Linked DNA regions of Homo sapiens: all the other regions are linked to region 1. Evidence: promoter capture Hi-C in 16 types of primary human blood cells and fetal thymus (Javierre and others, 2016). All regions are on one chromosome and are shown on one strand. Each heading gives the region's core, a stretch centred on a gene start or on the middle of the fragment in contact. The rest is flanking DNA. Distances are from core to core; before and after follow the strand shown. Region 1 holds the start of EXPH5 (exophilin 5). Region 2 overlaps CUL5 (cullin 5). Region 3 overlaps CUL5 (cullin 5).

What was found. The method cuts DNA at HindIII sites, captures the fragments that hold promoters and counts their contacts. A CHiCAGO score of 5 or more calls a contact.
Region 2: a fragment that was not itself captured here is called in contact with the fragment with the promoter of EXPH5 in region 1 in 4 of 17 cell types (non-activated CD4 T cells, naive CD4 T cells, total CD4 T cells and 1 more); the score reaches 5.6 in non-activated CD4 T cells.
Region 3: a contact is called between a fragment that was not itself captured here and the fragment with the promoter of EXPH5 in region 1, in 5 of 17 cell types (naive CD4 T cells, total CD4 T cells, non-activated CD4 T cells and 2 more). The highest score is 6.4, in naive CD4 T cells.

What each region holds. Positions count from the first base shown.
Region 1 is chr11:108,592,081-108,596,016 of GRCh38, forward strand. EXPH5 (exophilin 5) reads right to left here and starts at 1,688. Exons shown (of 6, transcript NM_015065.3): 1 at 1,338-1,688. The coding sequence starts at 1,456. RefSeq lists silencers at 1,165-1,224, 1,505-1,554, 1,575-1,874. The HindIII fragment of the contact is 3,661 bases long and covers 1-3,446 here.
Region 2 is chr11:108,065,230-108,069,124 of GRCh38, forward strand. All of the region lies in intron 7 of CUL5 (cullin 5), which reads left to right. Among named protein-coding and RNA genes, the nearest start is that of ACAT1, 54 kb to the right of the region's middle. The HindIII fragment of the contact is 3,557 bases long and covers 629-3,895 here.
Region 3 is chr11:108,028,224-108,032,340 of GRCh38, forward strand. All of the region lies in intron 1 of CUL5 (cullin 5), which reads left to right. Among named protein-coding and RNA genes, the nearest start is that of CUL5, 21 kb to the left of the region's middle. The HindIII fragment of the contact is 4,756 bases long and covers 6-4,117 here.

The sequences.
Region 1 (3,936 bases), core at 438-2,937:
ATGTGCATATGTGTAGGTACATTATGCACGTGGGTGTGTGTGGGTGTGGCATACTGTTCTCCTGAAGGCACACTTTCTACACTGTTCAGGGGAGGGGAATGATAAAGCCACTTTTTCTCAAGGCAGATGGTATGAAATCCATATTCCCCAACCTCAAATATTCCTTCATCCCTCAAAGAGTCATGTTTAGGGGAGAAGGGTGAAGTCAGGGCATTGGGCTTAGTGTATTCTAATTCTTTCTACAAAGACCAACTAGATTTTCCAATTTGAAGAGGGTCCCTGGAGGGTTTCTTTTGTCGGCGGTGGGGGACAGGCAATTCTAGAAAGAATTGGGAACCTGGAACTCGCATTAGCAAGCAGTTGATCATAAAACAAAATGACTTGCTAAATTCCAATCAATGGCACACAGTGTGGTCTGAGAGTGATGTCCTGAATTCCCTTCCACAGTTATCTAGAGAAGGACTTAGATGGATATATTCCAATATTGGCGAGAGAGTCCCTTTAATTCATTCCAGCACTTATCCCACACTTCCCCAGCAGAAAAACTGGTTAATGTACATCCTGGGTAATTATCTGTGTCTCTGGATTTCATTCTTTAGTAACTAATCCCTCACCTACAACAGTGTATAGTAAGGTCAAGGATGAAATTTCTCAGAAACTCGCTCCCCACAGCACCACGCACAAGAAGACCCACCCATTCCAGCCAACCCCGTGTGTCCAAGTCCCATTCGCCCACATAAGCCTCTATTTGACAAATTCCTCGAGCTCCTACCCTTGGGGTGGGGACCTTTCGCCTCCCGTGAGGTGCCGGCTCTCCCGTGCTTCGCTGACTGCCCGCATTGGGTGGGGAGATTCGCCTCTGGTGCCGAGGGAAAACTGCGTTAGGCGAGGGTGGAAGCTCTGTCGGACCCGTGCGAGCACGTGGGTGCGCGCGGGCCGCGGAGTGAGCAGCAGCCAGGATTCCTCTCCAGATCGCGCCCCCGCCGCATTTCATTGCCTGAAACGGCCCACGCCCCGCGATGGCCCAGCAGACACCCGGCACAGCACAGCGTCACTGCGCGGCCCCCGCAGCGCACGGACCCCCCCACCCTGCCCGACCCCAGACCCGCAGCCGAGCCCGTCTGGTATGTGGTGGGTGGAGAGGGTACCAACTAAGCATCCCAAAGTCCTTCAGGGAGCAACTCCGCGCAGTTTTCTCTTCCCGACCCGCAGCCTCCGCAGCAGCCGCTCGGAGCACCCCCGGGCAGGTGCCCCGCGCGAGCTCAGCGCCTTCCCCGCGGATCCCCGGCCCCTGCGGGACCCAGGCCCAGGACAAAAGAAATGAATTTGCTCTGTACCTGATCCTGTCCTTCTCGGCCCTCTGTAACTCCTCATTCCTTTCCAGCACCTGAAGGATCTTCCTGGCCTCTTCGTCATTTAAGAAACTGAAATCAAACGCCGGAGGAACTTTCGTCATTTTCTTTACTGTGTGTGAGTTACACTTAAGCTCCTTGGCGCCTCCTGTTAGGAAGGCATTTTTCAACCTGTACAAGACCAGTTTCACGAACTTGATCCCACAGCCAATAATAAGTCCGCCCCTTTGAAAGTCTAAAACCACAAACCTAGGGAACGCCCACACCTGAAGGGCTCATATTGACAATACCTTAATGACATGTTTCTCTCAACCTGTCCAACCGAGATGCAAAGTGAACGGCTAAAGGGAGAGAGGGAACCAATCCCGTTCCAAGGGGGCGGGCCCTCCCTTGTCCCCTCCCTCGTCCCCTCCCTCGTCTCGTCCCGTCCCTCGTCCCCTCCCTCGTCCCCTCCGGTCACCCTCCCCGCCCCCTATCTGAGTTGTTAAGCAAACAAGCCTACATAATTCTGCCTCTTAAGTGAGGCAAGGCTAAGTGTTGGCGCCAAAGTATTTGCTTTTGCTGTTGCTGTTTGCTCGCAGAACTTGAGCTTGATTAGTAAAGGAGTGAAAAAGGAGATTCATGACTAATCCTCCCTTTCAATAATTAAGAGCCCATAGAAAATAGAATTGCAAGTAGGGTTTGTAACTGGCAAAAGGGTTACTTATCTGAAAGACCAGGAAGAACTAAACTCAATTACACTACTGACTGTGGATGAACCTGGCTGAAGGGCGGAAATTAGTGTATCCTTGGAAACGAATTATTTGCCAAGCCTCTCATCCCACAGACACCCCCACCTCCACTGTCCCACAAAAGTCATTCTTAGACTTTAGAAACAAACAAACAAACAAACAAAACCGTTTATGGTATTTTAGGAGAAGACAGCCCAGAAGCAAAGGACTGTAGAAAACACCTGTTAGAAGTTTTCTGTAAGATTTTATTATCATCTTAATAAACTCAGAGAAGTAATACACATGCCATTTAAAAATACCTAATCCTCTGGTGAAAGCAAATGGTAATCCTATGAAGCCACAGAAATAGCTTTCCTAGAAAGTCAATTGTTCCACAATGCAATGAAGAATAATAGAAACTTATAAAGATATTCACATATATACTTTTTTTTTAATTATCAAGGCTTTTACAGAAAACATGTTTTTATCTTGGCTTCACTTCCTACCCAAAAATAACTCTGTCAGATTGACTTTCCTGCCCCATAGCCTTAATTTGGTCATTTTGAAGATGGTGGTGATGATTACTAACATATAAAATGTACTTCTACATATATCATTTCTTTTCATGGCACATAAACCCAATTAAAATTTTGTATCTGTACAAGAACATGATATCAAAAATTGCCACTTGTGTTTTGTTCTCTGGGCTACCCCATTTGATCATCATTATTTAAAACATGCCTAGGCAGCTAGCCATTCAGATAACTTTCTGTGGGTGTCTGTTATTTGTGTGAACCAGGAACCAATTTTGTTCACCCATGGTGTACACAATACAGAACTCCTTTATAAATAGTGTCTGTATTAATGATCCTGTTTTGGGAGTATGTCTTGTATATGGTGTCCAGTTTTTCTAGTGTGTTCATTTATTCAGCATACACATGGGACTTTTCAATATGGTCACTGGTGGGATTTTACACTGTTTCCAGTATATCAGTGAACTGATTTCAACCAACGTATCCTGGTGCCTATTACATGAAGGCATCACACACTGTGAACAACACAGTCCTTGTCTTTAGAAAGTTTGTAATCCAGTGGGAGAGATACACAAATAGAAAGATGACTATGTAAAAAAGAACATAATAGAGGAATAAAGAAAATTCCATGAGCACACAGAAAAGTTAGTGCCAACTGAGTGGATGGAGAGAGGATACGGTATTTAGGTTGCTGCATGAAGAGTCAGATTTCAAGAGGAAGAAATAGGGGGTGGTGGGAGGAGATGTGTGAGTCTATTCTAGGCAAGGGGATCAGCGTGCTGAATAGCAGAAGTACAGTCTAGGAATCTTCTCATATTCCCTCAACCTCTTTAATGGCCAGACTGAACAAAAGCTTGGAAGCTAGAAAACACTGGAGCATGTTCATGGATTGTTAAGTGATCTGTTTTGGCAGAGCATGTAGTCTCCACAGGGGTAAAATCTTCCTCTTTTTATGTAGAAAGCACAAATCTACACATGATACACAGATACACAGTATATCTGAAGTATTAACATTGCACAAGGGAGGTGATTGTGAAAAAAGTTCTAAAAAGGTGCATTGTGGGGACAGTAGTGAGAAAGAGGTTTAGAAACACTGGGCTAGTGCTCAGAGCACAGTGAGCTGAAAGGTAGGCTGAGCTCTGACTATGAATGCCATGTGATGAAATCTAGACTTCATTGTGTAAGCACTGAGGAGCTAATACAGGTTTTGAGGGTGATAATGATACAGTTAAAATTGAACTTAAGGCCGGGCACAGTGGCTCACATCTGTAGCCCCAGCACTTTGGGAGGCGGAGGCGGGCAGATCACGAGGTCAGGAGATTGAGACCATCCTGGCTAACA
Region 2 (3,895 bases), core at 1,157-3,656, 530 kb before region 1:
TTAGCCAGGATGGTCTCTCTCCTGACCTCATGATCTGCCCACCTCTGCCTGGCAAAGTGCTGGGATTACAGGCATGAGCCACTGCACCTGTTGGGAGAAATTTTATTATGGCTTCTATCTCATTATTTGTTATTGCTTGCCTAGAAGTTACAGTCCTTGTGGCCTAGACTGCCTTTCAAGTTTATTTGGAGCCCCAGAGTACTTTAGCTTATAGTGCGAGGCTTGCTAGAACTCAAGTCCTTACCACTGGAATGGGCGATTCCCCTCTGTCTAGGGCTGGTCTAAATGCTCCCTCCATGGGCATGTGTCAGCTGAGTTCATCCTACTTTTGCTTTCTGCTGTGAAAGGGTGGTGGTGAGTTCAATGCAGTATCTCACAGTTGCTGCTCTCTCCCTCTCCCAAGCACACAGATTCTCCATGCCATACAGCTGCTGCTGGGGGATGAGGGAGGGGTAACATTGGCGATTCAAGACTATCTTTCCTACCCTCTTCAGTGCCTCTTGCAGTGACATGAAGTTAAAACCAGGTACTATGAGTGCCCACCTGATTTTTGGTTCTTATGAAGGTGTTTTTTTGTGTGTAGATAGTTGTTAAATTTGGTGTTCCTGCAGGAGGAATGATCGGTGGAAGCTTCTATTTGGCCATCTTGCTCCACTCCTCTATTTTTTATTATTTTTTTTAGAAACAGGGTCTCACTATGTTGTCCAGCCTGGTCTGCATATTTATTCTTATTCCTGACCATTTGTATTTATTCTTTTGTGAATTCAGGATAATCTTTCATAAACATCACTTTTATTGTTTTACTTTTCTATTCAAAAACTAGAGTACTGGCTGGCCGTGGTGGCTCACGCCTCTAATCCCAGCACTTTGGGAGGCTGAGGCAGGCAGATCACAAGGTCAGGAGATCAAGACCATCCTGGCTAACACGGTGAAACCCTGTTTCTACTAAAAATACAAAAACAAACTTAGCCAGGCGTGGTGGTGGATGCCTGCTGTCCCAGTACTCAGGAGGCTGAGGCGGGAGAAATGGTGTGAACCCAGGAGGCAGAGCTTGCAGTGAGCCAAGATCACGCCACTGCACTCCAGCCTGGGCGACAGAGCGAGACTCTGTCTCAAAAAAAAAACCAGAGTATCATTATTTCATACCCCTGATTTTTAAGACCCTTCATAATTTGACCCTAACCTATTTTTCTAACTTAATATTGTCCAGCAAGAGTCACTCTACTCCAATAAGAAATATTTTTTTATTCATACAACTCACTCTGTTACTTTTTTTTTTGGATTCATTTTAGCAGTGTTTTCTTCTGCCTACCCAAAATCTTGCAAGGATTCTTTTAACTCACCTTGTAATAAAATTGTAATAAAGTAGCTCAGATCATCTAGCCTTCATCAGTTTCTTCCTATTTGAATTCCCGTGGTAACTATTGTTTCTACCACTAGGTTTAGGAGCAAATTATAGACTGCCTTGTATTTCTTATCAAGCACCAGCTGTGTGCCAGGACACAGCACAGTCTTTATAGCTGTGGACAGAGCACAATCTTTGTCCTTAAGTTTATAGTATAGTAATGATGCATTTTCCAGTTATTTGCTTATTAGTGAAGATCTTCTTTTCATACACATCTGTACATATGAACCATACACATGTTTTTAGGTATATAGTTTATGGGTTTCCAACTGGATTGTAAGATCATTGAGGGCATGAACCATGTTTATACTTCTCTATTCCTTAAAACACGTAACTCAGTTCTGAGCATGTAGCCATCACTAAGTATGTACATGCTCTACTTCTGTAGTAAGAAAAGTTGGAGGCTATGGAGATACATACCTGGCCTCAAATTATAACTCAAGACCTTATGAACCAACTGTGCAACATTTGGAAGTTATGTGGCTACTCTCAGTCTATGTCCTCATAAAGTAAGTATCTGCCTCATGAGGTTGCCATGTGGGTTAAATGAGATCTATATGTAAAGCATTTAGCATAATGCCTGGTACAAAGTAAGTGCCCATTAAAGGATACCTGTTATAATAATTTGTTTAACCTCTCAAGCTAGAAATGGATTCAACATCCTTTTATTTCCCTAATCCCTTTCATTTAAGCATTTACCAAATTCTTCTCAGTTTACTTTAATTATGTTGTCAATTTAGCTCTCCTTTTAATCCTCGTTGTAACCCACCATAAGAAATACATTTTATATTGTGGCTTAGAATATACTGTTTATTTGTACATATCTGAAACAAAAGTCTTATGAAATAATATTCATTGTTACAATATGTGATACACTCTGATATTTTTTGTTCTGTCCTATGTACATTTTTTTTTTTTTTAAACCTGGTCACAGCCATTAAAACTGATTTCACAACATACAGTCTGAAACACACTGGTCTGGATTTTTAGAATCTGCAAAATTTCAACTACCACTGAACAGGATAATGTTCAAGTGAAAGTTTTCAATGAAATAGAAAACACAGAGCTTAGAGTTTATTAGGATTCCACTTTGTCTTTGTTCTCTATTAGTTATATATTGTTAGATTTACCTATGCTCAATCTGGTTTCACTGCTTAAGGTGGAAGTGTTTAGTTGGGCCTATTCCAGTGATGTTATAGAATAAGATTACTCAGCAGTTGGGGCAGAGATTTCCACCTTGCAAGGAAAGAGTTTCTTAACCATTTTATATGTGTAGTCTTTTCTTTATTTTTCTTTTTTTTTTCCTTTTTTGAGACGGAGTTTTGCTCTTGTTGCCCAGGCTGGAGTGCAATGGCACGATCTCGGCTCACTGCAATCTCTGCCTCCCAGGTTTAAGCAATTCTCCTGCCTCAGCCTCCCGAGTAGCTGGGATTACAGGCACCCACCATGCCCGGCTAATTTTTAGTAGAGATGGGGTTTCTCTGTGTTGGTCAGGCTGGTCTTGAACTCCTGACCTCAGGTGATCCGCCCGCCTTAGCCTCCCAAAGTGCTGGGATTATAGGCTATGAGCCACCACGCCCAGCCATGTGTATTATTTTCTTAGGACAGAAATATACATGGATATATGCATTTAAAAGTCATCAGCATCATTCTTGTAGAGGAGCCTGAAAAAACCTTTTTTTTTGTTTTGTTTTGTTTTGTTTTGTGACAGTCTTGCTCTGTCGCCCAGACTACACTGCAGTGACATGATCAAGGCTTACTGCAGCCTTGACCTCCTGAGCTTAACTGACCCTCCCACCTCAGCCCCCCAACTCGCAGGGACCACAGAAAATTCTTTATTCGGAAAATTTTAAGCATTTTTACAATGTAGGAAGAACAGTATAATGAATCCCCATTACCTAAATTCAGCTTTAGTAGTTACCAACATTATGTCAATTCCAAAGGAATTTTTAATAAAAAATTTTTAAGGGACACATAATTGCCTCCCTTAATTTACAGATAGATGATTTGTTTTTCAGAAGAAATATATCAGCCTTATTGTACTTAACTTTAGTCCTCACAACCTATTAATTTCATCTGATCCCCAAAAGAGAAGTAAATAATTACATGACACGAGGGAGCAGAGATGACATGATATCTTCTGCCTCATTTAGATTTTCCTGATGGCCTCCTAGAGCACTAGACCCTTGCTATCTTACCTGAAATAGTTCAACAGCCTCGTTACCATATCCCAACCACCCACTCCTTACCACCTGCCTTACTACCATTATACTGATCTTTAATAATGACTTGAGGAGAGGAGAATCTCATTACATTTATCCTCTGTTTAAAACTTCCTTGGGGCCAGGCCTGATGGTTCACACCTGTAATCCCACACTTTGGGAGACTGACAGGGGGATCATGTGAGACCAGGAGTTTGTGACCAGCCTGGGGAACATAGCAAGACATCATCTCTACAGAAAAGTTTAAAAAATTAACCAGACTTGATAG
Region 3 (4,117 bases), core at 1,134-3,633, 560 kb before region 1:
TCACAAGCTTTCCTTAATAAGCCTGTCAAATCTTCTTTTATTCTAGTTGATGGTAGTGCCACACTTACTGGACAAAAGCCTTAAAGTCATGCTTTACTCCCATTTTCTCATATCTCAGATGCTTACTGTTAGGAAGTCCTGTTAGTACCACCTTTTGGGCATCTAAAATTGAACCACTTCTCATACCTCCTACCTCCATTGCTATCACCTCAGTCCAAGTCACCATCAGTGCTTCCTAATCCTACACCCAGTTTTAACCCTTGCCCCTTATAATATATTCTCAACATAGTAATGAGGGAGATTTTAAAATGTAAATAAGATTATGACACTTCAGGCCAGGTGCGGTGGATCACACCTGTAATCACAGCACTTTCGGAGGCCGAAGCGGGCGGATCACAAGGTCACGAGTTAGAGACCAGCCTGGCCGACATGGTGAAACCCCGTCTCTACTAAAATACAAAAATTAGCTGAGCGTGGTGGTGCACACCTGTAATCCCAGCTAGGGCAGGAGAATTGCTTGAACCCAGGAGGCAGAGGTTGCAGTGAGCCGAGATCGCCCCATTGTACTCCAGCCTGGGCAGTAGAGTAAGACTCCATCTCAAAAAAAATAAAAAATAAAAAAGATTATGACACTTCTTGCTCAGAATCTTTTAATGGCTCTTCATCTCACTTATAGTAGAAACCAAAGTCTTTATAATGGCCTTCAGGGTCCTACAAGATCCAGCTCAGTAAGATCCAGTAAGCTAAGTTACTTCTATGACCTTATCTGCTCTCTCCACTTTGTTTACTTTGCTCTACCTTGAATACATTAAGCATGTTTCTATCTTATGTTCTTTGCATTGGCTGCTTTCTCTGCCTAGAATACCCTTTTTCCAGGTATTCCCCCATTGTCAACTCCCTGTTGGCTTCCCCACGGCCCATTTGTGTGAGAAGAAGAGTGCCTGTGAAGGGATTAGTTGTGCTGTAAGGAGTGAAGGATAGAATACCTTTTTCCAGGTATTCCCCCATTGTCAACTCCCTGTTGGCTTCCCCACGGCCCATTTGTGTGAGAAGAAGAGTGCCTGTGAAGGGATTAGTTGTGCTGTAAGGAGTGAAGGATAGAGGGGCAGGAGTATGGCAAATGTTGTAGTTCTCTGAAGAGCCAGTGAATGAGAGAATTGTAGACCTACTAGCAACTGTTGAGTCCAGCTTATTTGCTATTCTGAATAGTAATGAAAGAATTCAAGAGGCTTTGTAGCAAGTTAATAGAGATGAGGCAGCCTTCAGTCAGTCAGTGAAAACGTACATAAATCAAGGTTCATAGTCTGAAGATTCTTTTTCTTATTAATAAGGCATTCTGTTTTGTAGATAGTGGATTTGGTGTCCTGCCACTTAGTTATGATTTAATGATATGCTCTTCAGTTTAATAGAGAATAGGTCAAGGAACTACTTGAGCATCATTTTTGGAATCTATTATAAAAGTTTAATAGAAAACAATTAATTATTAAATTCCTTTTAAAATTGAGTATTAGGGAAACGTGTTTATTATGTGTTCCATCAAAAAGGAGAGCAAAAATATGTTTCCTGGTACTTAACAATGTCTATTAGGAGATTTCAGAGCCTAACCAGTGTTTAATTTATCTCCAGTACCTGTCTACTCTGGTACTCTGCACCTTTTATTTTTAATTGCAGGACTTACACTATATTTAATTTTATAAATTAGCAAAAGTGCTTGTGGAAATAGACTTAATTGAAATTAGAAAGTATCCTCTTGTTAAGAAGGTATTCTTTTTTCCATGTCAGTCAAGAAAAGTGTTCTTTCTATGGTTCTTTCATATTTGTTTATTTGCACACCTCTTCCTCATAGGGAAGAATAAAAGAAGAAAATGAGAGTTACAGGAAAATAATAAAAAGTAGAAAAAGTAATGTGAGGCCAGGCATAAAGTTATTGTACAAAGTATATGCCGCAGCATCACAATTCTGACTCTGAATTTCCCAGTAGCCAACACTAAGAGGAGTGCGAAGTTACTTACGTGATTCATTTAAGTCCATAAGGTAAAAAGAAACTAGTTGTTCAGGAGAGAAGCGTAGCTAATCCCAGTACTAAGTTTTTAGTGGATATCTCCCATGGGTCCTTATGATAAGAATACAGTGGCTGGGTGCGGTGGCTCACGCCTGTAATCCTAGCACTTTGGGAGGCTGACGTGGGCAGATCACCTGAGGTCGGGAGTTTGAGACCAGCCTGATGAACACAGAGAAACCCCGTCTCTACAAAAAATACAAAATTAGCCAGGCTTGGTGGCGCATGCCTTTAATCCCAGTTACTCGGGAAGCTGAGGCAGGAGAATCGCTTGAACCCGGGAGGCGGAGGTTGCGGTGAGCTGAGATCGTGCCACCGCGCTCCAGCTTGGGCAACAAGAGTGAAACTCTGTCTCAAAAACAAAAAGAAAAAAGAATACAGTGTGATAGAAGCAGGCATCTGGAGCAAGACAGTATATTAACTTTTAGGATGAACTATGTTCGTGAATATAAGCAGGATTTATAAGAGTATGATGTTAATTTGTGGTTCTTAACCTAGTTTGGGTCATAGACCATCTAACATTATTTTTATGTAATTTTATCATGAATTTGATAAACATGCAGATTGTGGACTAACTTCAAGAGATTCCGATCCAGTAGGCCTGAGGTAGGTTTTAGGAATCTGTATGTGTAATCACCACCTCAGATGATTTTCACGTAGGTTGTTGTCAGATCATATGTTGACAAACTGTTTCAGTGTTATAATTTCAGGGAGTTTGCATATTCCATACAATCACTGTATGCATCTCAGGTTCTTAACCTGAGCAATATCAACAGATTTGTATAACTGAAAAATAATCATGAGTCTGGGCCTGGTGGCTCATGCCTGTAATTCTAGCACTTTGGAAGGCTGAGGAGGGTGGATCATATGAATCCAGGAGTTCGAGACCAGCCTGGGCAACATGGCGAAACCCCGTCTCTACTGAAAATACAAAAATTAGCCAGGTGTGGTGGTGCGTGTCTAATCTCAGCTACTCGGAGGCTGAGGCATGAAAATCACCTGACCCTGGGAGGTAGAGGCTATAGTGAGCCAAGATTATGCCACTGCACTCCAGCCTGGGCAACAGAACGAGACTCTGTCTCAAAAAAAAAAAAAAAATCATGAGTTTCATAGGGTGTTTGGTGCTGGTGTACTAGAAAGTTAGGTTTTACATTTAAGTCTTTAATCCATCTTGAGTTAATTTTTGCATATGGTATAAGAAAGGGGTCTGGTTTTACTTTTCTGCATATGGCTAGCCAGTTATCCCAGCACCATTTATTGAACAGGGAGTCCTTTCTCTTTTGCTTTTGTCAGGTTTGTTGAAGATCAGATAGTTGTAGGTGTGTGGTCTTATTTCTGGGCTCTATTCTGTTCCATTGGTCTTTGTATATGTTCTTATATCAGTACCATGATGTTTTTTGGTTACTACAGTGCTGTCGTATAAAGACACATGCACACATATGTTCATCACAGCACTGTTCACTCTAACAAAGACGTGAAATCACCCCCAATGCCCATCAATGATAGACTGGATAAAGAAAATGTGGTACATATACACCATGGAATACTATGCAGCCATAAAAAAGAACAAGATCATGTCCTTTGCAGGGACATGGATGGAGCTGGAGGCCATTTTCCTTAGCAAACTAATGCAGGAACAGAAAACCAAATATTGCATGTTCTCACTTATAAGTGGGAGCTAAATGATGAGAACACATGAACACATAAAGGGGAACAACACACACTGGGGCCTACCAGAGGGTGAAGGGTGGGAGGAGGGAGAGGATCAGGAAAAATAACTAATTGCTTAATCCTGGATAATGAAATAATCTGTACAACAAATCCCCATGACACAAGTTTACCTTTGTAACAAACCTGCACATCCTACACATGTACCCCAAACTTAAAAGTTAAAGAAAATCGTGACTTTTGTTGAAATTTACTGGCCAAAACAAACCAGATGGTCCTAGTTCAGTGGCTTACTGCTATAACCTCAGCATTTTGGGAGACTCAGGTGAGTGCATCAGTTGAGCCCAGGAGTTCAAGACCAGCCTGGGAAATATAACAAGACCCCATCTC